Linked DNA regions of Homo sapiens: regions 1, 3 and 4 are each linked to region 2. Evidence: promoter capture Hi-C in 16 types of primary human blood cells and fetal thymus (Javierre and others, 2016). All regions are on one chromosome and are shown on one strand. The core of a region is centred on a gene start or on the middle of the fragment in contact, and the rest is flanking DNA. Distances in the headings are between cores, read along the strand shown. Region 1 overlaps RAPGEFL1 (Rap guanine nucleotide exchange factor like 1). Region 2 holds the start of MED24 (mediator complex subunit 24). Region 3 overlaps WIPF2 (WAS/WASL interacting protein family member 2). Region 4 has its middle 11 kb from the start of WIPF2.

The links. Contacts are between HindIII fragments. The CHiCAGO score rates a contact against its expected background, and 5 or more counts as called.
Region 1: a fragment that was not itself captured here is called in contact with the fragment with the promoter of MED24 in region 2 in 16 of 17 cell types (naive CD4 T cells, megakaryocytes, erythroblasts and 13 more); the score reaches 10.4 in naive CD4 T cells.
Region 3: a contact is called between a fragment that was not itself captured here and the fragment with the promoter of MED24 in region 2, in 1 of 17 cell types (M1 macrophages). The highest score is 5.5, in M1 macrophages.
Region 4: a contact is called between a fragment that was not itself captured here and the fragment with the promoter of MED24 in region 2, in 3 of 17 cell types (neutrophils, naive CD8 T cells and naive CD4 T cells). The highest score is 6.1, in neutrophils.

The regions. Positions count from the first base shown.
Region 1 is chr17:40,189,798-40,192,497 of GRCh38, forward strand. It overlaps RAPGEFL1 (Rap guanine nucleotide exchange factor like 1), which reads left to right. Exons shown (of 15, transcript NM_016339.6): 7 at 637-734; 8 at 843-965; 9 at 1,519-1,697; 10 at 1,785-1,875; 11 at 2,416-2,466. Among named protein-coding and RNA genes, the nearest start is that of MIR6867, 2.4 kb to the right of the region's middle. RefSeq lists a silencer at 1,685-1,744 and an enhancer at 1,865-1,944. The HindIII fragment of the contact is 2,203 bases long and covers 342-2,544 here.
Region 2 is chr17:40,053,148-40,055,847 of GRCh38, forward strand. MED24 (mediator complex subunit 24) reads right to left here and starts at 1,261. Exons shown (of 26, transcript NM_014815.4): 1 at 1,214-1,261; 2 at 322-488; 3 at 151-233. The coding sequence starts at 451. RefSeq lists an enhancer at 1,461-1,520. The HindIII fragment of the contact is 3,100 bases long and covers 144-2,700 here.
Region 3 is chr17:40,250,373-40,253,072 of GRCh38, forward strand. The region is part of intron 1 of WIPF2 (WAS/WASL interacting protein family member 2); the gene reads left to right. Among named protein-coding and RNA genes, the nearest start is that of WIPF2, 32 kb to the left of the region's middle. The HindIII fragment of the contact is 446 bases long and covers 1,063-1,508 here.
Region 4 is chr17:40,206,676-40,209,375 of GRCh38, forward strand. No RefSeq gene overlaps it. Among named protein-coding and RNA genes, the nearest start is that of WIPF2, 11 kb to the right of the region's middle. The HindIII fragment of the contact is 6,806 bases long and covers 1-2,700 here.

The sequences.
Region 1 (2,700 bases), core at 193-2,692, 140 kb after region 2:
TGGGAGGCACTAGCTGGGCATGGTGGTGTGCACCTGTAATCCCAGCTACTTGGGAGGCTGAGGCAGGAGAATCACTTGAACCGCGGAGGCGGAGGTTGCAGTGCCGAGATCAAGACACTGTGCTCCAGTCTGGGCAACAAGAGCGAAACTCCGTCTCAAAAAAAAAAAAAAAGTTTGGGAGGCACTGGTCTAGGACTCAGGTTCTGATCTGAGTGCTGCCCCTCACTCACCTATGGATTGTATTCTGATCCTTTAACCTCCCTGTGTATGTAAGGATGCCACATTTCACAGGCTAAAGACACAGGATGAGTGGGAAGGCAGAAAGCCAGCAATGTCACTGAAGCTTTGTTTTCCTCTACAGTAGGAAAAAATTTCAGCCTTCCCAGTGTCACAAGGACAACAGAGTAAGAGAAAAGCTGTGAAAGAAAGGGAGTAGAAAAAAAGTTATAAATGCAAAAGAAATAATCATTTGACAAATTCCAGATAAATATGGCATAAACTAGTGATAAGATGAGTTCCATTAGTCTAGAATGTGTCAGTGTGGGGTGAGGAGTTTTTGGATAGGACAGTGTCAGTGTGGGATGTGTGAGGGTGCAGGCGGCAGGGGCCGAGGATGAGCAGCTCTTTCTCCTGCAGAGAAGGTCCTTCTCCAGCCCACTGAGGACTGTGTTTTCACCGCACTGGGCATCAACAGCCACCTGTTTGCCTGTACTCGGGACAGCTATGAGGCTCTGGTAAGAACTTCCCAAGGCCTTGACTGGAATGGAGGGCTGAGGAGGGCTGTGAGCAATCCCTCACCCTGCCACCAGGAGCCCAGCCCCTATGCCCCTGCCTGCCACCAGGTGCCCCTCCCCGAGGAGATCCAGGTCTCCCCTGGAGACACAGAGATCCACCGAGTGGAGCCTGAGGACGTTGCCAACCACCTAACTGCCTTCCACTGGGAGCTGTTCCGATGTGTGCATGAGGTGGGGACCGAGGCTGGTGCTATGCTGGGGGGCTGGAGGGAGAAATGTGCCATTGGGAGACGGTGTTCGCAGCACAACGTCCTGGTTCCAAGGCTCACTTGCAGCAAGCCCTTGGGCAACGCATGGCCGTAACCTTTGTTCCCCCATCTGAAAAAAATCGCAAAGAGAGAGACCCCAGAGCACAGTGGCTCAGGGCCCAAGTGCTGTTTACACAGAACCTGACCCAGGATTTCTATTTTTAAAATATTCACTATTAAAGAAATAAAATAAGGCAGAGACAATAATGCCTAGCAGATGGTTGTCTTGAGGATGTCAGCCGTGAGCGAATGCCTGGCACCTAGTAAGTGCTCAGTAGCTGGTGAAATATTATTAATGCTGGTTGTTTTCTTTTTCCGCATCTTTGCCGCCTCCTGTCCTTTCTATTTTTCTATTTTCCACCCCTTCCGCCCCCGCCCTCCTGCCTTTCGCTCCTCATCGCCTTGCACTGCCATCTTCCCACCCACTCCCCTCACCCCCTGGCGCCCTGGCCGCCCCTCCGCTGCCGTGGGTGCAGCTGGAGTTCGTGGACTACGTGTTCCACGGGGAGCGCGGCCGCCGGGAGACGGCCAACTTGGAGCTGCTGCTGCAGCGCTGCAGCGAGGTCACGCACTGGGTGGCCACCGAAGTGCTGCTCTGCGAGGCCCCGGGCAAGCGCGCGCAGCTGCTCAAGAAGTTCATCAAGATCGCGGCCCTGTGAGTGCGGCCGTCGGCGGGATGGGGGGCCGGAGGCCGGAGGCCCGCGCCGCCGCCCGCCCCTGACCCCGCCTCCCACCCCCGCAGCTGCAAGCAGAACCAGGACCTGCTGTCTTTCTACGCCGTGGTCATGGGGCTGGACAACGCCGCTGTCAGCCGCCTTCGACTCACCTGGGAGGTGATGAGACCCCTCCCGTTCCTACCTGGGAATCTGGGCATCCCGGGCTCCCCGAAGTGCGTCCTCCCGGGACGGCCGCCGGCCTGGAGGGAGTCTTTGCGCCAGTTGGAGGGAGGCGCCCTCTTCTGGCATACGCAACCCCAGGGCGCACAGCTTGGCTAATGGACCCTGTCTTTGTGCAAATTAGTGAAAAGCCCGGATCCCGCCTGAGTCACGGCAGGCAGCCCTTGGCCAGGTCAGGTCGCAGACTTGGCTGTGGGAGTTGGGCTGATTTTCATCCACACTCAGTGGGGGCATCTTTATACAAAGCACCTGCATAAGACAGACCTGGCCTTCCCCAGAATAATGAATTCCTCTGGGCTGTTTCAAGCCTCTAGACTTAGCCAAGGCCTGACTTCATTTCCCCACCCACCAGCTTCCCAGCCCCCTACAAGCCATGCAGGCCCTTTTGCCCTCCAACAGGGAGAATTAATCCGAGGCTCCCATGTAACCCAAGGAGCTCCACTCTGATATCCCTTCTCCTTCCTTCAAACTCTGCAGAAGCTGCCAGGGAAATTCAAGAACTTGTTTCGCAAATTTGAGAACCTGACGGTGAGTGGGTTTGGCTCTTTCTTCTGCTCTTGGACTGAGAGCCCAGAAACCCTCTGTTCCCATAAACCCCCTTCCTCAAGCTTTCCTTTCAAGGTGTTTAGTGTATGGGACCCCCCACCCTCCTTACCATGCTGGAGGGTGAGGTTGGAAGGATTGCGCCCCTGTTTTTCTTGAAGGAAAGGGGGAGTAGTCAGGTCCCTCCCCACCACACCATTAGAAAGCCCCCAGCACCCC
Region 2 (2,700 bases), core at 11-2,510:
TGGTCTTGAACTCCTGGGCTCAAGCAATCCGCCTGCCTCAGCCTCCCACAATGCTGGGATTACAGCCATGAACCACCGGGGCCCAAATGCACTCCAAGTTTTTTACCCCCAGAACTCTCACTTCTTGGTGGGGGTTTGCGGGAAGCTTACCTGGGAACTAATGGCATACTTCAGGTAGGACAAGATGAGAGGATTGGGGGATGGTCCAATCATGGCCTGCTCTAGTAACGCATCTGCAAGAGGAATAGCAAAACACAACTGAGTGATTACAACTTCTCTGGGTTTATCCCTCCCATCTTTCTTTCCCAGTTCACTTGAGACCTGCCAGGTTGAGAATATCCCAGGTGGCTCCTTTAGGAAAGAATTTCTTCATGTTGATTGCCCATTGGTAGTCACTCCAGCGCTCCTTCCAGGCTTGCAAAATGGCTTGCTTCAGGTTGACCACCTTCATTATTTCACTCTGAGCAGGTGGCAGCGGTGGCGGCCAGCTTTGAGGTGAAAGAAATGGAGCTAAAGAAAAGGACATGAGGTTCTAAGGAGAACCGGGGAAGGCAGAATTAAATAGAAAGGAGAAGATGCGGGAAGATTTAAGCGAGACAGAGGAATTTGAAAGAAAAAGAGCTAAAGGGATAAAGTAAGATCCTGTCAGACTCTCTCCTCCTGAACCGCCCTTCCTTAAACTGGGGCACTAAGAAAGTATCGGCCGAGCGCAGTGGCTCGCACCTGTAATCCCAGCACTTCGGGAGGCAGAGGCGGGCGAATCACCGGAGGTCAGGAGTTCGAGACTAGCCTGACCAACATGGAGAAACCTCGTCTCCACTAAAAATACAAAATTAGCCGGGCTTGGTGGTGCATGCCTGTAATCCCAGCTACTCGGGAGGCTGAGGCAGTAGAATCGCTTGAACCCGGGAGGCGGAGGTTGTTGGGGTGAGCCGAGATCGCACCATTGCACTCCAGCCTGGGCAACAAGAGCAAAACTCCGTCTCTCAAATAAATGAATAAAGAAGTATCAAAGGGACTAATAGATTAAACAGGGCATCAAGGAGTTAAGGCAGTCCTGGTTGCCTAATTACGCCCTTAGCTCTAAAAGCGTCCCTTGGCCACCACCATTCCAAGTCCAGATTTGCTCCCTCATTTCCTCCACCTTCTCCAGCCCTGTAACTATACCTCCCAATTTCCTTTTCATCCACCACCTCCCCAAATTTAAGCCTACCGCACAATCCAGTTCTAGGTGGTAGGCATCGCCATTTTGGCACTTGTCAAGAAGCTCACTTTCTATTGGCTGGGAGTAACAAACGCCAACCAATAGAAATGCAGCAAGGAACGCCCCGCTGTCTTCTGGGAATGGTAGTTCCTTGGACTGAAACCGTATTTGTCTGCGCCGGCGAGGAAACTAAGGGACTCGTCTAGTCGGCCCGCATTGTTCTTCTCCTTTAAGGGAGGACATCCAGGAGCTGAGGCACTACAGAGACTCAGGGACTCGAGGGAGCTCGAAAGGCCGCTCACAACCCGGCGTCGCCCACGACGTCACTGTCGACCGGGCTTCTCCATCATATTCCGACACCCTTTCATTCGTTAGCCCCTAGTTAGTAGGTGCGGCAAGGGTGTGGCGTGGGGGCAAGGGTGTGGCGTTCAGCAATAAGGTCTTTCTCCTTTCCTGGGCTCTTTCTGTTCTCCTAAGCCCCTGGAGCTACCAGAGCTATTCTCATTTCCACAACTATATTCTAAAAGCGACACCGAGGTGCCTTAGTTGCACACATATCACCGTCCCCGAATCTTACAGTCCTATCAGAATCTCCAGGCCCTCCATACAGCTTGGATACAAGGGAAAGTAAAGAGGAAACTAAGGTGAAGGTGATCAAAATCAAAGGAATTCTGAGAAACTGTCACAACTAAGAGGGCTAAGGAGACCTGATGACTAAATGTAATGTGGTTTTCTGAATGCGATCATGGAAGAGAAAAAGAATACTGGGTAAAAACTAAGGAAATCTAAATAAAGGGTGGACTTTAATTAATAATAATGTATCAATATTAGTTCATTAGTTGTTACAAATGCATAATACTAATGCTAAGATGTTAATAAAAAGAGAAATTGGGTGCAGAATATGTGGGGACCCTCTATTACCTTCCATTTTTTTCCTGTAAATTAAAAACTTGTTTTTTTAAGTTTCTTGTTGTTGTTGTTGTTGTTGTTGTTTAAATCTTGCTTATCCCAAAGATCCATATATAAATTATGCCCAGGGCTTTGGCCATAGCCTTTCCTTCCCCCAGTGAGAAACCCGAAAGCAAATGTTACCCACCTCTGGAGGCTCCAATGTCTGAGCCTTCTTATGCATAGCCCTCATCCCTCCCCATGCTATGGACTGGTCATCCCTAACATTTACAACCAGGAATAAGAGTAAATTACTCGGGAGGCTGAGAAAGGAGGATCACTTGAGCTCGGGAGTTCAAATCCAGCCTGGGCAACATAATGAGACTCTCAGCTCTACCAAAATACATAAATAAATAAACATGGAGGCCTTTAGCCAGGGCCCAATATCCTAGTTCACAAGTTCAAGCTCAATCTGTATTCCTCAACAAAGATTCTTTTTTTTTTTTTTTTTGAGATGGAGGCTTGCTCTGTTGCCCAGGCTGGAGTGCAATGGCGCAGTCTCAGCTCACTGCAACCTCTGCCTCCCAGGTTTAAGCAATTCTCCTGCC
Region 3 (2,700 bases), core at 36-2,535, 200 kb after region 2:
GGTGCCCGCTGCCATGCCCGGCTAATTTTTTGTATTTTTGTATTTTTTTTTTTTTTTTAGTAGAGACAGGGTTTCACCGTGTTGGACAAGATGGTCTCTATCTCCTGACCTTGTGATCCGCCCACCTCGGCCTCCCAAAGTGCTGGGATTCCAGGCGTGAGCCACCACACCCGGCCTTTATCTTGGTTTTTAAGATGGAAGGGCTTAAGAAAGGAATGAGAATTACTGTGTTTCCGAACTTGAGGCAGCCTCAAGATGTTTCTGAAAGTCAAGGTCTCTGAAGAGCACAGATGGTGAGGTTTGTAGTTCTAATTTAATAGATCAGAAAGGAAATACTTAAAATTCTGTAGAGAACCTTCTTGTTCTTTTCTAAATTTAATCTCAGGTTTAACCTCAAGACCATTAGATTCTTAGCTGCACGTGGTGGTGCTCACTTGTAGTCCTATCTTCTCGGGAGGCTGAGGCAGAAGGATCACTGGAGCCCAGGAGTTTGAGGTTACAGTGAGCTATGATGGTGCCAGTACACGTTAGCTATTAGATTCTTTTTTTTTTTTTTTTTTTTTTTGAGTCTCGCTTTGTCACCTAGGCTGGAGTGCAGTGGCGCAATCTCGGCTCACTGCCAGCTCCGCCTCCTGGGTTCATGCTATTCTCCTGCCTCAGCCTCCCGAGTAGCTGGGACTACAGGCGCCCGCCACCACGCCCAGCTAATTTTTTATGTTTCTTAGTAGAGACGGGGTTTCACTGTGTTAGCCAGGATGGTCTCAATCTCCTGACCTTGTGATCCGCCCTCCTCGGCCTCCCAAAGTGCTGGGATTACAGGCGTGAGCCACTGCGTCCAGCCTATTAGATTCTTAGTATTGCAATAGACAGTGCTTCCAGAAGGCTCAAATTTGTCCTTTGATTAATCACAGTTGGTTAGTGAAATTTGTCTTTCTGTTGTCAAATGTTATGAATTGTTTTGGTTCATTTTTTTTTTTTTTTAACTCAAAGTAGTTCTCAAAGCAGACCCTCTGCATTGGATTAGCGATTATAAGTCTCAGTCCTAATTTGATGTAAACAAAAAGCTTCTTTTGGGAGTTTTTCAGGGAAAGGAAAGTTGTTTTAATTTGAATTCACCTAAATGGGGCTGTTCTTGGAAACATATAGAGAACTGTTTGTATTCTATAACTAAGAAATTTGGAATGAGTTAAATTTCATTTGGGGAAAAATAGAAAATTGCTAAACCACACTAATTTCCAGGGGAGTTTTTTGTTTGTTTTCTCCATAGTGATTAGTGAAAAGGAAGAAGTCAGGAGACCTGGATATGAGGCCTAACTCTGCACTTTATTCCTGAGTGATCTTGGGCAGTTGCCCTTTGATGAGTCAGTTTTTCTCATGTACATGTAGGCACTCCCACTCCTGGGACTTCAGTGTCCTCACCATAAAATGGGAAGGATAATACATCATTATGTAATAAATGTCATTGATAGGAGTGTGTCATGCATACAATCCCTGTGGAGCCAGAAGAAAGCTTGAGAGCCACTGTTGGTAGTCAACACTAAAGTCAGTCACTTGATATAGATGGTGTTTCTTTGATTTAACTTTTTTTATGTACTTAATTTTTTAAGGGGTCTTGCTGTGTTGCCTAGGCTGGATCCAAAAACAAAGGCTCAAGTGATCCTCCCTTCTTGGCCCCCTGAATAGCTGCAATTATAGGCAAGCGCCACTGATGAATCTGTTTTTCAATTAGAGTTTGAATTGAGTCTATTTTAGGAAGGCATCTTTAACTGTGTAATATATTGCTTAAAAAAAATTGCTATGCTAGAGAATTCCTGCTTTGCTTAAATAAGTGGAGCACACTGACAGGCATAAGGCTGTTCCTTTTAGGTCATTATTCACCTTGTAGCACGGAGATTGGATCACCTATGGACATGGAAAGAGTAAAGGACTTGTCTGAGTCTTTTTTGGGTCATTCTAGGAGATCCTTTCAATTATGGCAATGGCCAATGGCTGATAGAACTAGAAACCCAGGCCGGGCATGGTGGCTCACCCCTGTAATCCCAGCACTTTGGGTGGCCGAGGCGTGAGGATCATTTGAGGTCAGGAGTTTGAGACCAGCCTGGCTAACTTGGTGAAACCCCGTCTCTACTAAAAATACAGAAATTAGCTGGGTGTGGTGGCATGCGCCTGTAGTCCCAGCTGTTTGGGAGGTTGAGGCAGGAGAATCGCTTGAACCTGGGAGGAAGAGGTTGCAGCGAGCCGAGATGATGTTACTGTACTCCAGCCTAGGCAACAGAGACTCTGTCTCAAAAAAAAAAAAAACTAGAAACCTCCTCAAAAAGGCAGGACCTCTGGTGACTGGAATTAGTTGAAAATGTTTGTTTCTGAATCAACTGTTATTTTCCCTGGTTTGTTTGGTTTTTTTTTTTGAGATGGAGTTTCGCTCTTGTTGCCCAGGCTGGAGTACAATGGCGCGATCTCGGCTCACCACAACCTCCGCCTTCCAGGTTCAAGCGATTCTCCTGCCTCAGCCTCCCTAGTAGCTGGGATTGTAATCCCATGTGCCACCATGCCTGGCTAATTTTGTATTTTTAGTAGAGATGGGGTTTCTTCCATGTTGGTCAGGCTGGTCTCGAACTCCTGGCCTCAGGTGATCTGCCCGCCTCAGCCTCCCAGAGTGCTAAGATTACAGGCATTAGCCACCGCGCCTGGACTTTTTTT
Region 4 (2,700 bases), core at 123-2,622, 150 kb after region 2:
TTGGTCTTGAACCCCTGACCTCAGGTGATCCACCCGCGTTGGCCTCCCAAATGCTGGGATTACAGGCGTGAGCCATGTGCCTGGCCAGTGCCACACACTTTTAAACAACCAGATCTCATGAGAACTCATTCATTATCACGGAATCAGCAAGGGGGAAATCTGCTCCCATGATCCAGTCACCTCCTGCCAGGTCCCTCCTAACATTGGAAATTACAATTTGACATGAGATTTGGGTGGGGACACAAAGTCAAACCATAGCAAGGAATGAAGTACTGATATATACTACAACATGGATGAACCTTGAAAAAACTGTGCTAAAAAACCAGACACAAAAGGCCTCATATTGTATGATTCCATTTATATGAAATGTCCAGCATAGACAAATCCATAGAGACAGAAAGTAGATAGTTTCTGGTTGCCATGGGCTGGGGTGAGAGCAGAATGGGGAGAGGCTACTAATGGGTATGGAGTTTCTTTTTGGGTGATGAAAATGTTTTGGAATTAGATAGTGGTGATGGCTGTACAACATTGTAAATATACTATATACTCACTTGGATGCTTTAAAGTGGTTACAATGGTGAGTTTTATGTTATGTGAATTTTATTTGCTTGGCTTCTAGACTCATCACACCAGTCTCTGCCTCCATCATTACAAGGCATTCTCCTCTGTGTGTCTCTCTGTGTCCTCTCTTCTTCTTTCTTTCTTTTTTTTTTGAGATGGAGTCTCACTCTTGTCACCCAGGCTGGAGTGCAGTGGCATGATCTTGGCTCACTGCCACCTCCGCTTCCCAGGTTCAAGTGATTATACTGCCTCAGCCTCCTGAATAGCTGGGATTACAGAGGCCCGCCACGACGCCCGGCTAATTTTTTGTATTTTTAGTAGAGATGGGGTTTCACTGTGGTCTCGATCTCCTGACCTCGTGATCCGCCCGCCTCGGCCTCCCAAACTGCTGGGACTACAGGCGTGAGCCACTGCGCCCAGCCTCTCTTTTCTTTTCTTTCTTTTTTTTTTTTTTTTGAGACAGAGTCTTCCTGTGTCACCCAGGCTGGAGTGCGGTGTCACGATCTCAGCTCACTGCAGCCTCTGCCTCTGCATCCTGGACTCAAGTGATCCTCCCACCTCAACTTACTGAGTAGCTGGGACCACAGGCGCGCACCACCAAGCACAGCTAATTTTTCTGGATTTTTAGTAGAGACGGGGTTTTTATCGTGTTGCCCAGGCTCGTCTCAAACTCTTGGCCTCAAGCTATCTGCCTGCCTCGGTCGGCCACACAAAGTGCTGGAATTACAGGTGTGAGCCACCACGCTTGGCCAATTGAATGTTTTTAGATTTTATATAAATATTATCATACTGGATGTGGTGTTCAGCAACTCCCCATCCACAACACTCTGCCTGTGAGGCTCATCCAGGTCAGCATATATTACTGGTTTGTTTGGTTTTGCTGTTCTGTGTTTCTCTTTGATTCTCAACCCAGTGCATCTGGCTTTCTCTGTCATCACTCACATAATCTGCCTGGGTCAAGAGCACCGATGACTCCCATGTTACCAAATCCAAGAACACTTATTTTCCTATTGCTGGCATTTGATATTTCTGACCATTCTTCCTTCTGGAACACTTATCGCTGCTTCCAGGATGCTACGTTCTCAGGATTTCCCTGTCTTCTCTTTCTCAGTCTTCCTCACTGGCCTCTCCCTCAGCCTGGTCCTTGTATGTGGAGTGCCCCAGCTCCCTCTTGAGCCCTTTTTTTTTCCTTCCATAATCCTGGGCTTAGATTTCATCGTCATATTTGTGTTTGGGAATCTACTGCTGCATAACAAACAGTTCCAAATTTAGTAGCTTAAAAATGACAACTTTGTTTTATTTTATTTTACTTTTTATTTTTTTTTGAGACAGAGTCTTGCTCTGTCGCCCAGGCTGGAGTGCGGTGGCATGATCTTGGCTCACTGCAACCTCCGCCTCCTGGGTTCAAGTGATTCTTGTGCCTCAGTCTCCCAAATAGTTGGGATTACAGGCATGAGCCACCACGCCCAGCTAATTTTTGTATTTTTAGTAGAGACAGGGTTTCACTATGTTGCCCAGGCTGGTTTTGAACTCCTGACCTCAGGTGATCTACCTGCCTCAGCGTCCCAAAGTGCTAGGATTACAGGTGTGAGCCACTGCACCCAGCCTAAAAACAGCAACCATTTTATAACTTCTCATGATCTTCCGGGCTGATGGGAGCTTAGCTGGATAGTTCTTCTGGTCTCACTTGAGGTCTCTCTTGCTGCAGTCAGAAGGCCACTGGAGGGCCAGGTGCAGTGGCTTACGCCTGTAATCCCAGCACTTTGGGAGGCCGAGGCGGGCGGATCACCTGAGGTCAGGAGTTTGAGACCAGCCTGGCCAGTGTGGCAAAACCCCATCTCTACTAAGCATACAAAAATTAGTCGGGCATGGTGGCTGGTGCCTGTAATCCCAGCTTCTCAGGAGGCTGAGGCAGAAGAATCGCTTGAACTCGGGAGGCGGAGATGGCAGTGGGCCGAGATCGTGCCACTGCACTCCAGCCTGACAAAGCGAGACTCAGTCTCAAAAAAAAAAAAAAAAAAAAAAAAAAAAGCCACTGGAGCTAGCTAGGATGCTAGCTCACATGTCCTGAGCCCTGGTGGGAACAAAGGGACCACAAGGATGGCTGGACTTTTCTCTCCATGTCCAGGCTTCTCCCTC